Regions from separate parts of the Homo sapiens genome. Here region 2 is linked to region 1. Evidence: promoter capture Hi-C in 16 types of primary human blood cells and fetal thymus (Javierre and others, 2016). All regions are on one chromosome and are shown on one strand. Each heading gives the region's core, a stretch centred on a gene start or on the middle of the fragment in contact. The rest is flanking DNA. Distances are from core to core; before and after follow the strand shown. Region 1 holds the start of FKBP1B (FKBP prolyl isomerase 1B). Region 2 holds the start of DTNB (dystrobrevin beta).

Region 1 (7,691 bases), core at 3,338-5,837:
GCCATATTCAAGAGATGCTTTTAAGGCAGATGGAATAGACAGTGATATCGATAGGATATAAGTAGTGAGGAGGAAAAAAGAATTAAGGATAACACCCAGATTTTTAGCTTGAGAAACTGCTGAACCATTAACCAGAGCATGTTTCAAAGGCAAGGAAGGCAGGGCAGGCTGGGTGTGGTGCCTCATGCCTGTAATCCCAGCACTTTGGGAGGCTGAGGCAGGTGGATCATCTGAGGTCAGGAGTTCGACACCACCCTGGCCAACATGGTGAAACCCTGTCTCTACTAAAAATACAATATTAGCTGGGCGTGGTGGTGTGTGCCTGTAGTTCCAGCTACTTGGGAGGCTGCAGCAGGAGAATCGCTTGAACCCGGCTGGCGGAGGTTGCAGTGAGCCGAGTTTGCGCCACTGCACTCCAGCCTGGGTGACAGAGCAAGACTCCATCTCAAAAAAAAAAAAAAAAAAAAGAGAGAGAGAGAGGAAGGAAGGAAGGAAGGAAGGAAGGGGGAGGGGGAGGGAAGGAAGAAAGGAAAGGAAGGGCAGGCACAGTGGCTAACACCTGTAATCCCAGCACTTTGGGAGGCTGAGGTGGGAGGATCACTTGATGCCAGTATTTCAAGACCAGCCTAGGCAACACAGGGAGACCCCAATTCTACAGAAAAATTTTTAAAAATGAGGTGGGTGCTCACTTTGGCAGCACATATACTAAGACTGAAATGATACAGAGCGTAGCATGGCCCCTGCACAGGGATGACTTGCAAATTTGTGAAGCGTTCCATAAAAAAGGAAAATAAAAAATAATAAAAATAAAAATAAAAATTAGCTGGGTGCAGCGTCCCACACCTGCAGTCCTAGTTACTATGGAGGCTGAGAGGATTTGAGCTCAGGAGTTCAAGGTTACAGTAAGCTATGATCACACCACTGCATTCCAGCCTGGGTGACAGAGTGAGACCCTGTTGGGGAGGTGGGGGTGGGGGCAGTAGGGGAGGAACGTGTGTAGTATGTGACAAATTGAAATTAACATGTGCTTCATGTAAGATGTCTACATGGTACCAATGTACCTTAGGCAGTCAGAGGTAAGGATTTGGAAATCACTGACATAGGGTTAATCATTAAAGTCAAGGTAGTGGAGAACCTCACTGTATAAGATCAGAGGGCCAGGAGGACCAAGGTTTAAATGCTCTTCAGGCATTCCCCAACGCTACTGATTTTGCCTGAAACTAATTGTATACCTATTGTTTCACAATCTCCAGAGTATAAGTTTTTTGGAGAACATGAAATCAAGAACCCTGGGTGTTTTAGGAGGGAAAAGACCACTGTATTAGTTCAGGTCTCCGGAGAGGTGGTCAGAAAACTAAGAGCCGGTGCTCAGTATATAACCATTTAATTCTGTTTTTCATCTTCTTTAAAGACAACTCATGACGAGAATCAAGGGATTCAGGTGAACTGGCATTTCCAGCAGGTTTAAACAAAAGTACATCCCTCCCCCAACTTGTTTTCCAAGTTTATTGTATTTCCACTATAAAATGATTTCAAGTTCTTTACACTTATTTGGAAACAAAAATCATACACAAGAAAAAAATTAAGAAGAGTTAACGAAAAAACATTCATCCAAAGAAAATTATGACTAATCCCTCTAGACTCTTCTATGCATAGTTTGGCTGTCAAACTTTTTCAGTTATACTGTGCAACTTTGTATCACGGTTTTCATCTAACATTATATATTAGCATTTCCCTATGTTATTTAAAAGTTTAATAAATTAGTTTTAGAGGCCACTTCACATACACTCAGTGAAGTGACATAATGTACTGAACTGCTCCTAGCTGTACCCAACTTTATCCCGCTACCCGCTATAAATAAAGCTCGGACCGAGGTCTTAAGGCTTAAAGCATTTCCTGACTTTGGATGACTTCCTTGGGACATATTCCCAGGAGTGTTATTCACGAGTCACGGTCATAATCCCTCATTTACACCCACCCCTAGCTCGATCCTCATCCCGCGACCCCTCACACGCGGCCCGCCCCATTCTCCTCATCCTCTCTGCACGCCTGAATCTCCTCCTTCCCGCCCCCTACCCACCAAGAGCCGATCCACTTCCCTCCTGACCCCCTACAGCCTCCCCACACCCGCCAGGCCCGGCAGCAGTGGAGATGAAATACCTTAGGTCTCACTGCCTCACAAAAACACCAATCTCTCTGTGGCCGCCCAACATCACGCCGCCGCACATAAGAAGTTCTGGGCAGCCACCGGAAGCACCGGCCCTCAGTCCTCTGATAGGTGGGCGGTGATATCGGTCCTCTGATAGGTGGGTGGTCCTCTGATAGGATAGGCACGCTCCGAGATGGCCCCGTCTATTGGCTTTTGAATATGCACATTAGCAGAGGGTTCGTCCCACTGGCCAATAAGCTCTGGCTCTGCCGCACGGATCGCTGGGAGTGGTAGTCCCCGTAAAACCACCGACCGCAAGCCCGCCACATTTTCCCTCCCTTAAGCACTTGAGCTCTTTCCCCACTTCTCGTCGGTTCTCTTGTCTAAGGAGTCCAGGAGCCCTAGGATCACCACGGCTTTTTAACCTTCTTTAAAATCTGATAAAATCTCTCAGGAAAATGTTCTTATCTGTACACAAAATACTGTGCATTGAGCTGAAGCCGCTGCATGGGCCTGTCCCAGCTACAAATCCCTGTTCTACCCCGACCCTAAGCGTGCCTGCTCTGGCCGCAGCCTATGGATTTAGTGCGTCCCTTAGGCTTCTTCAGACCTATGAGGAATTCCAGGTCCTGACCCTCACAGTACAGTCGACAATCATCTTTCTTTAACAACACAGCCAGAACACCTTCAGGGATGCAGACAACCTCATCTGGGACCTAAGCATCCGGGAGAGTGGGGATGAGGAAATGGAGGAAGAACACCCTTGGGGCTCATTCTGGACCAGTTTGCCAGGCTTTTCTCCCCATGCCTATCTTCCAGTGCCACTCAGGAGAATCATATCTTCACATCAGTTTTTATGTTTTTCTTTTTCTTTTCTTTTCTTTTTTTAAAAATAAAGATGGCATGCCTGTAATCCCAGCACTTTGGGAGGCTGAGGCGGGCGGATAACCTGAGGTCGGGAGTTCGAGACCAGCCTGGCCAACATGGTGAAACCCTGTCTCTACTAAAAATTTAAAAATTAGCCGAACGCTGGTGTCTCACGCCTGTAATCCCAGCTACTTGGGAGACTGAGGCACGAGAATCGCTTGAACCTGGGAGGCGGAGGTTGCAGTGAGCCGAGATTGTGCCACTGCACTCCATCCTGGCGACAGAGTGAAGATTCTGTCTCAAAAAAAAAAAAAAAAAAAAGGAGAGAGAGAGAGACGGGATCTCGCTATGTTACCCAGGCTGGTCTTGAACTTCTAGGCTCAAGCAATCCTCCTGCCTCGGTCTCCTACAGTGTTGAGATTACAGGTGTGAGCCATTGTTCCAAAAATTGATATACTTGGCCTCACATCAATTTTTGGAACAATGCAGGTAATAATGAGGGGGAAAAAATTTTAAAAGTCCCAATTACCCTTTAAACAAATATTACCTCCTCCAAAAAATATTTTTCTAGATTCCTGAATGTATTTTTTGGTGGAGGAGGAACTCAAAGTAGAATTCATTTACATATTCATTCATTCATTCCACAGCACTAATCACTCCATGCAGTAACTGTGTGTCCCCGTCCCTCTCAGACTTAGTACCTGGAAGACAGCCAACCTGTCTTAATTCTATTGGTATCCCCAGGGCGCATTTCTTTGCCTTGAAAATTGAGTACCCAATAAATGTGCGTCGAGCAGAACTACACGAGATGGAGAACAGGGGTTTAGGGGTATGGGGGAGAGTCAGCAATTACTGGTGTCCTCCCTCCCTCCCCCAGCTCTGCTCCTACAGATCCAGGACGCCTAGCGAGGGTAGGAACCTCTTCTGTGCTTCCGCAACGCTCTGAACTGCACGGCACTGAGCGCATCTAATTAAAGTGATGGTTTCATTAGATAGCAACACAGCGAGACCCCGTTTCTACAAAAAATAAAAATAAAAAATAAAAGATTAGCTGGGCGTGGTTGCTCGCGCCTCTAGTCCCAGCTACTTGGGTGGAGGCTGAGGAAGAAGGATCGCTTGAGCCTAAGAGTTCGAGGTTGCTGTGAGCTATGATCGCGCCACTGGACTCCAGCCTGGGCGACAGAGCAAGATCCTCTGTCTAAAATAAAAATAAAAATAAAATGATGGTTTAATCGCCGGCCTTTGCCCCTTCTGCCCCCCACCCCCCACAAGTCTGTAGGACTGGGTTGACTTCCCAGAGCTTACTACAGATTAGATGCTAAATAAATGTCTATTGGACGGATGCGCGAATGAATGGATGGATGGAGGATGTGGTTGTGCTTACCACGCTCCCTGGTCAGTGGGTTAATGTCGTCAGGCGGGGCCAGGCTCGCTAACAGCCGGGCGGGGTCCCTTCCCCCGGGCCCCGCCCCGGCCGACCCCACCTTTCCGCGCGGCTCCGCCCCGCCGCCCCCTTGCCAGTGGCCCCTCCCCGCGCAGGTCCCGACTCCAGCCGCACCTCCTCCGGCTCTGCAGTGGCGGCGAGGAGGCGAGCCGGAGCGACGGCGGGGCTGGGGCCGGAGCCGAGCCGGGGTCGGGCAGCAGCAGGGACCCCCCAGAGGCGGGGCCTGTGGGACCGCTATGGGCGTGGAGATCGAGACCATCTCCCCCGGAGACGGTACCGGGCTCCCTCCGGAGCCAGGGGAGGGGAGGGGTCCCGGGGCGGAGCCCGGAGGGCGGGGGTCTGATTCGGAGGTGGCGTGGAGGGTGCTGAAGGGTCGGGGGGCTGGATGGGGAAGGCAGGCGGAGACGCCGGACGGGATTCTTGGGGGTCTAGGAGACCATCCTCCGCCATCCTCTTCCGCGCTCACCTAGGGGAATGTAGGCGGCAGCTCGGAGGCGGGGGTCTGCGGCCCGGAGGCGGGGGTCTGCGGCCCGCCACCGCCCCGGGCTTCTCCTGTCGCGGCTGCAGTCGTTCGGTTATCCGCTGCTGCTGATACCCCAGCCTGGGTTTCGGCTTCGCTTTCCCTGCCCTACTCGGCGAGCTCTGGAAAGCAGGACCTGCTCTCGGATACCCGCTGCTCGGGGACCTCCTCCTAGCGCGTCCCCCGCCGGGCCTCCCCTCGGTCGCTTCCCTGCGGGCCGGGCTGTGAGCGGCTGTGGGGACAGACCCAGGCTGGGGAAGGGGGAAGCGCTCCCTTGCCCGCTTCCGGATCTCGCTTTATCCTGCCGCCGCTTTCAGACTCCCTGGCCACCCTGTCCACTCCCATGGCCTCCACATTGAAGCTTCTAAGCCCAGCCCTGCGACCTACGGCCGAACCTCTCCCTGGACGTCCCAGGGTGCTCCCTGGTCAGCAAGTCCAAAACAGAACTCTCGCTTCCCACCTTCTCTCCTAAGTGATCCTCTTTATCCCCCTTCCGTGTCTCACTTTCCCAAGTCCTTGTATTACTGGGTCTGGGTGTGCAAGGAATAGCCATTTCTTTATTTCTTGAAATTTAATTAATACCAAAGCCCCCATTGTCTGCAGGGTTTGATGGGCAAACTTCATATCAGATATTATTAATATGAACAGCTCCCCTCCCCAGGAAATTGGATAACTTCTTGGCTCCAGGCCATCTTCCTTGTCCAATCCCAGCCACTACTTCAGATATCCCCTGGAGTACAGGCTTCTTTGCCCACGCAGGAAACATTGCTGCTGGGTCCCAGAAAGCATCTCCCTGAGGCCTTTTCATCCCTCAGCAGCCCCTGAGCTAATCTCCCCATCTTCAGTCTCTCCTCCCTGCTTTCAATCTCGTCCCCAATCTCATATTCACTCCCTTTCTATATCATAGCCTGAAGACTCTTCTTAAAATGCAGTGGCTCACGCCTGTAATCCCAGCACTTTGGGAGGCTGAGGCGGGCGGATCACAAGGTCAGGAGTTCGAGACCAGCCTGACCAACATGTTGAAACCCCGTCTCTACTAAAAATACAAAAATTAGCTGGGCATGGTGGTACGCACCTGTAATCCCAGCTACTCGGGAGGCTGGGGCAGGAGAATCACTTGACCCTGGGAGCCAGAGGTTGCAGTGAGCTGAGATTGTGCCATTGCACTCCAGCCTGGGTGACAGAGCAAGACTCTATCTCAAAAAAAAAAAAGAAAAAAAATGCATGTTTGACTATGCCCCTCCCTCAGGCAGAAGATGTTTTAATGATTCTTCCCTCTCCCCCAGGAGGGGCCTTTGGTGCTATGGTCTATTCTCATCTTCCACACTAGAGCTTCATCTCTCACCACCTGTCCTAAGCCCACCACTAACTTTTTCCTCCAGCTTTCCCAAGCTGCCTGCAAGTTGTCAAACACACCACTCGTTCAGCAAATATTTATTGAACGTGTGTGCTAGGCCCTAAGGTGACACAGTTGAAACAGACAGGGTTCCCGCTATTGCTGGACTGAGGGCCTTTGAACATGTTACATGTTGTTCCCTCTTCCCAGATGGTGTTTTTTCACTTCCTCTGGCAAACTCTTACTTGTCTTTCAAGACCTGGCTTCACCATTCTCTCCTCTATGATGTTTTCCTTGACTTCTGTGGTCAGTTAGCTGCTCCCTCCTCCAGGATCCCATAGAGTCCTCTAAATATCGGCTCTGTGGTTAGGCTTCCTTAGGCTTTGTATCCAGCCCCGTAGCTTTAAATTCCAGCCAAATTTATACCTCCAGTGCAGACTCTTCATCTGCCTACTTGCAATATAAACTCAGATGTCTAATAGGCATCTCAAGATTGCCACCCGCACAAATCTGTTCCTCCCGTCTTCCCTATCTCAGGAAATAGTTGCACTATTCATCCAGTTGCCCAAACAGAAAACCCAAGCATCGTTCTTGTTGTCTCCTTTGTCCTCATCCTGGACCCCATTTCCAGTCTGATTGCATGACCTGTCAGCTCCGCTTCGAAAATATGTCTCCAATCTTTCACTCTCTTCTCTGCTGCCACCACCTTAAATCAAGCTATCATTGATTTCTTGTCTGGATTATTGCAACAGACGCCTAACCGTCCATCCTACACATAGCAGCCAGAGTGATGTTATAAAATCTTAATTCAGATTATGTCATTCTCTGGCTTAAAACCCTCCAGTGGTTTCCTATTGCACTTAGTATTAAATCCGGCTCTTCAAGCCCTGCATGATCCATGTCCTTCCCACCTCTCTCCTCCCTCCCTTCTTTCCAGCACCTAGCCTCCTTGCTCACTGCAAATGTGTTGATTCTGTGCACTTGTTACTCCTTTCCCAAGTGCTATTTCCCAGTATTTTGCTCATCCTTCAAGTCCCAGCTCCAGGGGGCACCTTCTCCAAGAGGCCATCCTGGACCACTCTGTCTGAAATGGCCTGTCCCACTGCATCTCCCTTTAATACATCATTGTGTGTATTTTCTTTAGAGTATTCATCATAATCCATAATCATTTTGTATATTTAAGTATTGTCTCTGTCCATTAGAATATAAACTCCAGGGCGGGTTTGGTGGCTCATGCCTATAATCTCAGCACTTTGGGAGGTTGAGGTGGGAGAATCTCTTGAGCTCAGGAGTTCAAGGCCAACCTGGACAACATGTTAAGACCCTGTCTCTACAAATTTTTTTTAAAAAAATTAGCTGGGCATGGCAGCATGCA
Region 2 (7,158 bases), core at 3,745-6,244, 1.6 Mb after region 1:
CAATATTAGTTTATCAATTATAATAAATGTAGCATACTAATGCAAGATGTTAATAATAGGAGAAACCATATGGGAAAGAGTGGGTATATGGAAACTCCATACTATTCAGCCACATTGGTCAAAATTGTGTTAATCTATTTTTATTCCATTATGTATATTGTTTTAAAAACTGTATTACTGACAATTGCACTTGAGTACATACACAAAAGAAATGGAAACAGAGACTTAAACAGACATACAGATACCAATGTTCATAGCAGCACTCCTTGTAATGGCCAAAACGGGGAAACAACCCAAATGTCCATCAATGAATGAATAAACAAAATGTGGTATATTCATACCATGGAATATTATTCAGCCTTAAAAAGGAAATTTTCACACATGCTACAATATGAATGAACTTTAAGGACATTATACTAAGTGAAATCAGCCAGATACAAAAGGGCAAATATTGTAATGATTCCATTCATATGAGGTACCTAGAGTAGTCGAATTCATAGAGACAGAAAGTAGAATGGTGGTTGCCAGGCGCTGAGGGAAGAATGGGGAGCTGGTGTTTAAGGGGTACAGAGTTTCAGTTGGGGATGATGAAAAAGCTCTGGAGACAGTGGTGATGGCTGTGCAACAATGTGAATGTATTTCATGCTACAGAACTGTACACTTACAATGGTTAAAATTGTTATTTTTATGTTATGTGTATTTTACTATAATAAAAAAAGTTAGAGTGCTGAAAAACTGGTCATCCAAATTGAAAAAAAAATTGTATCTTTTCATTATACCATACATAGAAATAAATTCCATCTGGAAAGCAAAACTTTTTTAAACTTTTGGAAGAAACTCTAAGAATATATCATTAACACCATGAGAGACAGAAAATTTTCTTAAACCAGATACACACCCAAAAAAAGACAAGCCATTTAAGGGAAATTTTTCATAAATATGACATTAAACTTAAATGGTATATACAACCAAATACATTGTTAACAAAGGGAAAGAAAAGCCTAGGGCTGGCAGGATGCATTTGCAACACACAGACCCACTGAAGAATCAGCATCTAAAGGAACCCAACTGTTCCTCAGTGAGTAAAAGGACACGTGCGCTGTGATGTAAGTCCACAACCGGGCCAGGTGCAGGGGCTCATGCCTGTAATCCCAACGCTTTGGGAGGATCACTTGCCAGCCTGAGCAACATGGCGAGACTGCATCTCTACAAAAAATTTTAAATGGTGGCACGCAAGTGTAGTCCCAGCTACTTGGGAGAATCACTTGAGCCCTGGAGTGCCACTGCACTCCAGTCTGGGCGACAGAGGAAGACCCTATCTCAAAAAAAAAAAAAAGCCTACAACTGAATACACTAAGCAGTTGAAAATAAATGGATTAAATCCACAAGCAGCAACATGGTTATAGCCCCATCAGTTATGAAGTAAAACGCATACCTCTGACCCAGCAACTGTAGTTTTTCATTCACTGCAGCAACGGTCCTTAATGAGAATACTAAATAAACTACGATACATACTACATAAGAGATTGTGTAGTAGTTAAGAAGACTCAGGTTGATTCCTGTGTTCCAACATGAAAAAATCTCAAAATCATTCTGTTAGGGGAAAAAACTGCAGAACAATGTGTATGGTATGATGTCATTAATGCAGAGGAGAAAAAACTCTGCTCTTTTTTTATTCTGTATTACCTATATATACATGAAAATACATAGAGAATAGCCTGGAAAGACCACAAAAACTGATAACTTCTGTTTCTGTGAGTAGGTCAAGGGGGCCTTTATTCTGTCTATACTGTTTTGAGTATCAGATGAGTTTGTGTTCCCTATATATACATGAAAATACATAGAGAATAGTCTGGAAAGACCACAAAAACTGATAACTTGTTTCCGTGAGTAGGTCAAGGGGGCCTTTATTCTGTCTGTACTGTTTGAGTATCTGACAAGTGAGTGTGTGTTCTGAGCCACCTGCAGAGTTGCAGCACACAGTCACACAGAGTGTGCACTACACAACTCCAGCAGCTGCCAGGCACAAGGACTCCAATGTGAATGGTGCTCCCTAAAGCTGGGCAGAATACAATCTACACAACTAGGTGCCACAGCTCTGATGCTCGTGTAATTCGAAATCAATAAAAGGGAGTAGGGAAGATAGAGAATGGACTGCAAACCAGCATAAGGGAACATTCTGGGGTGATGGAAATTTCTTGATTGGAATGGTGGTTACAAAGTATACAGCAGTCTCCCCTCAGAAATAAACAATTTGTAAGTTTTAAGTTGTGTACCATTCTGAATAGCGTGACGAAATTTTGTGCCATCCCACTCTGTCCCACCTGGGATATGAACTATCCCTTTCTCCAGCATATCCACACTGCATAAGCCACCTTCTGGTTACTCACTTAGTAGCTGTCTCAATGATCAGATTGACTGTCATGGTATCACAGTGCTTGTGTTCAAGTGACCACTGTTTTACTTAATAATAAAGTGCAAGAGTAGTGATGCTGGCAATTGGGATATGCCACAGAGAAGCCAAACATATGCCTAAGAGAAGTCATTAATCTCTCATGGCAACTAATTTATAAGTTAAAACTTTATCATAGATACTTAAGTATAGGGAAAAAACAGTCTATATAGGGTTTGGAATTAACTGTGGCTTCAGGCATCCACTGGTGCTCTTGGAACATATCCCTGAGGCTAATGGGGGGACTACTGTACACATTTTTCCAAAACTCATCCAACCGCACACGGGAAATCTGTGCATTTTATTTTGTCAACTATACGTCAAAAAGTTGGTTTTAAAATAAATACATAAACAAAATATCATTGAGAGAGCCTGGAATAAGGCACCCAATATTGTAGAACCTAGGCACCTCTCAACAAGAGACCTGCTGGCTGTACAGCCCTGAAACAGGAGAAATAAATTTACTTCTTCAAGGCTTCCTATACAATGCCAGATTTTGATTATTACTTATTTTTCACACGAAGAAACTAAGGCCCTGAGAGAGTAACATAAAGACATAAAATAAACAATAAGTTGAAATTCTCTTGGTTCTGAGTCTAATTTTCTAACCATAGGTAGAAATTTGTCTCTCGGGCATAGTGGACATCCAAAAACTCTGCCAGCACTACCTTGACTGCACAACCCCTTTCAAAGGCAATTCCACTTATGCATGATAAAAATCCTTAGAGAACTCATAAAAGGTCAAGTTTTAATTTGGCAGACAAAGTAACCCAACAGGCACTGCAACCCAGGTTACTGAAACAGCAGCCTGGAGCTCCAGAGTTCAGAGATTCAACCAAGGCAGAGCACAGGTAGAATTCCAGCCCTTACAGAAAAGCAGAGGCACCAACAGCCTCGCACTACAGGTCTAAGACCCAAGAACCAGGACCAAAATGAAAAAGTGTTCTCTAGACAACACTACCCTCTTCCTTCTCAAGTAATAGAAAAAGCCAATGGGAGAAGGAACAAAATGGGATGATCTCAAGCAACAGGCCAAGGAGCAAGCTCTTGAAGGCCAACATGAAAGACACATGGGAAAGTGGTAGCATGGCCACAGAAACCAAGACCTCGCCGCCTTAGCCATTGCTTTAACGTGCCCAGACCTCAGAACCGGGGTTGCCTCGCATAGCAAAAAAAAAAAAAAAAAAAAAAAAAAAAAAAGAGGCAGAGAGAGAGAACTTGTGGAACAGGAGAAATCCAGCAACCTTCCCTAACACTAGAGTGACTGACACTGCTCCATGGCAAATGTGGCCAAACCTTGCTTGTCCATTCATTCATGCAATAGACACTTATGGCTCAACCGCTGTGAGCCAGGCAACATTCTGAAGATTTAGCAGTCAATAGTCATGGAGCTTATTTCTAGATGGGAAGGAAGGAAACTTCCTTTCTTTCCAAACGTCTTTTTTCCCCATCTAAGAGCCCCCTTTAAATGTTACCCGTAGGAGCCTTCAAAACTCTCCCAAATTTCTCCCATAGGCTTCTTTTGACCTTTCTGCTTTATCCCCAAAACCACGCAATTTATGGCTCCAATTTCCCAATACTGGGAAAAGACAAAAGAGACCGAAAGTAAATAGGGCATGCGACATAAAATTCGACGCTCCTTTGTATTTCATGTGCATATCTTCACAGCCACACTGTCAGCACCTCAATAACATGACGGTGTTCCATACTATTTCGTGGCCCCAGTGCTGACTACGGGTCTCTACCTACGGTAGCTGGAAGGTCTTCCTAATCCCAAGGCCTGGCACAGGAATTTAAGGGCAAGTATTCGTCACCGGCATCCTCGTCTCGGGACACTTCTTTCCTGTCCAGGGTGACCTCCTGGACAGGTTCGCTATTAGGCGCCTCGGGAAACAGTGATTTGGGGTGATCTGAAATAAATACCCTTCCCTCTGCCAGGGCCTGCCCGCCTCACCTGCCCTCTGCCAGGACCTGCCTCACTCGCCCCTTCAGCACCTAACGCAGAGCCGCCTCCAGGCGAGCCGGGCTCGGGCAGCATCAGCCCGGCGCCGGGCCCCCGCTCGCGCCCGTGCCCCGGCGCGTTCCGGACCCCGATACCCCTCCCGGCCCGGGATCCGCCGCATCCCCTCTGCCTGTCCCTCCGGGGCTAGCCGCGCCGTCCCACCTCGCAGCCGCGCGCGGTGCAGCGGCCCCGGCTCCCCGCGCCCTCCCCGACTCCTGCAGCGCCGCACCCGCAGGCTCCCGGGTCCCCAGTCCCGGCGCAGCGCGAGCTGCCGTCCCGCACCTCGCGGGCGCGAGGCTCCAGCCCAGCTCGTCTCCCCACAGCCCCGGCGGCGGCCGCAGACCCCCACCTTGCTCACTTCCCCGCCGGAGCAGGGGTCGTCGGGAAGGTCTCCTGCGGCCTCACTCCTCCGCACGCTCCGGCCCAGCCCCCTCGGCTGAGGCAGCGGCAGCGCCTACTCAGGCCCCGGAGCCACCCCCGCGGCGAACGTTCGCAGCGCCCGGCTCGCGCCGCTTCTCCGCCCGGCACGCGCAGCGCCCGCCCCCGGCGCGAGGGCGCGAGGGCGGAGGGCGGAGGGCGGATGGGCGGGCGCGCGCCCAGCGCGAGCGCGCGGCCGGGGGCGTGGCTTCCGCGCGCGGGGAGGGGGCGGGAGCGGCCGAGCAACCCCCCTCCACCCCGCCCCCGCGGCCGCGCCCCGCCCACCGGTCGCCGGCGGGTTCCGGGCAGGCGGGAAGCTGGCTCCATCCAGGCTTCTCCCGCTCGCTGGCGTCGGGCCGGGTGTCTTTCCATCCGCAGGTATCCGTCGGCGGGGTGCCCGGCCCGACGTGACTACCCGACAAAGAATGCAAAGAGCCACCCCGTGAATCATTCTCCGCGCCTGGGTCACAAGCCTGTGCCCGAGTGACCCCCGTGAACTCCGCAAGCTAGCCCAGCCGCGGCGTGCGCCCCGCGCTGCACCAGGTGCCTGTGGGCGCACGATCACGGTCACGGCGCCTGGGCTCGAGGCGCCCCAAACTTAGCGGGGAAAACAGCCATGTACACAACCAAGTCCGATGACCCGTGCAGAGCCAAGCCACGGTGCGATGCTGGCACAGAAGCTAGAGACGACTTCTGCTTGGACGCCGCAGAGGGCTAGAGGCGGCATTTATGGTCAACCTCGAAGGAAGAAAAAGAAGTCCTAGGAGGAAAAAGGGAGGACATTAGGGCTGGGAAAACAGTTTGGGCAAAGGAGCCGGGGCAGCCAGGTTTACCATCTCAGCACCAGCTTTTTTGTGTTTTACTGTTATCCATCTTTTATAGAATTCTTTCCAAACTGTGAAATACAGGAGATGGTGCCAAATTAGAATATAGCAAGGACTTTTTGAATGGTTCAAATGGTCATTCTCAACGTTACTTAAGACTCAAAACAGCAACGTCCTTTGGGGGCTATTGGTCAATGATGAAGGCTGTAAGCTCCAGAGCTAAGCGACCCCAGGCCTGCATGCTGGGAGTATGGTTTTCACTGCTTTTTGGCACCTTACGGTAAGGCAGATCGTGCCACCTCCTGCTGCTGCCTGCCTGCCTGCCTGCCTGCCTTTAGAACACCCTCTTCCTCCTCCTCTCCTCTTTTTATTTTTAAACTCCTATGGTGAAGGAAATGCTGATAACCAACTTTGTTAAATGGGAACAAATAGGTTCCTCAAAAGATGAGCATTTTCTGGCCTGCCGCGGAGGCTCACGCCTGTAATCCCAGCACTTTGGGAGGCTGAGGCAGACGGATCACTTGAGGTCAGGGGTTCGAGACCAGCCTGGCCAACATGGCGAAACTCTGTCTCTACTAAAAATACAAAAATTAGCCGGGCGTGGTGGTGTACGCCGTAATCCCAGCTACTTGGGAGGCTGAGGCAGGAGAATCGCCTGAACCTAGGAGGCAGAGGTTGCAGTGAGTCGAGATCGCACCACTGTACTCCAAGTCTGGGCAAGAGAGTGAGACTCCGTCTCAAAATAAATAAATAAAGATGGACATTTTACCTTTTACCTTACATATATGAAGTGTGTGAATATTTTCATGCTTGAGGAGACTTATCTCTTGTAGGCACGGTCTTGGCTATGTTTTGTACATATTAAGATACTCAGAATACAGGTAAGAGACCTCTAGCTTCTTTATTTGCCCTTTTTGAGCACCCCCTATGTGGAAGGCATTGAGAGGGGTAAAACATTGATTCTGTTCTTTGGAGAAAAGATGTGTAAATAATATAAAATAAATGTGTAAATATCGCTTGATATGTTCGGTTTATTGATTGAAACCAAGGTAATTTCAATATGTGGACTAGACAATCCTAAACCATAAGGGAATTAAATACTTCAAGGACACTGTATTGGCATCTCTCCATCTCTGTTCTCTATTTCTTCACCTCCCACATCCTCAGAAAACTTTTCAAACACCTTTCAATCATTCTCCCCCTCTCACTCCAAAATTACCAACTTCTCTTTACTTGTCTCTTTCCTTCATCATCTATTCATGTTTAAGCTTTTCCTGTCCTCAAGAAAAAGGAAGAAACCCTTTCGCTGTCCCTCTAGATTCTGCTTCAGTTACTAGTCCCTCTCTGAGTTTTCCTTCATAAATATCTTGAAAGTCATCTACCCTCATCTCTACCTCCTCAGCAGCTCCTCAGCTCCTCAAACCTATGTAGTTTCTGTCCACACCACATCACTGCATTGCTCT

The links. Contacts are between HindIII fragments. The CHiCAGO score rates a contact against its expected background, and 5 or more counts as called.
Region 2: the fragment with the promoter of DTNB here is called in contact with the fragment with the promoter of FKBP1B in region 1 in 2 of 17 cell types (monocytes and total B cells); the score reaches 5.8 in monocytes.

The regions. Positions count from the first base shown.
Region 1 is chr2:24,045,154-24,052,844 of GRCh38, forward strand. It overlaps FKBP1B (FKBP prolyl isomerase 1B), which reads left to right and starts at 4,588. Exons shown (of 4, transcript NM_004116.5): 1 at 4,588-4,733. The coding sequence starts at 4,697. WDCP (WD repeat and coiled coil containing) reads right to left here and starts at 2,238. Exons shown (of 4, transcript NM_025203.3): 1 at 2,161-2,238. It also overlaps the pseudogene RNU6-370P. RefSeq lists a silencer at 4,450-4,749. The HindIII fragment of the contact is 22,874 bases long and covers 1-5,339 here.
Region 2 is chr2:25,668,583-25,675,740 of GRCh38, forward strand. DTNB (dystrobrevin beta) reads right to left here and starts at 4,995. Exons shown (of 21, transcript NM_021907.5): 1 at 4,804-4,995. RefSeq lists silencers at 4,444-5,373, 4,738-5,032. The HindIII fragment of the contact is 7,823 bases long and covers 1-6,961 here.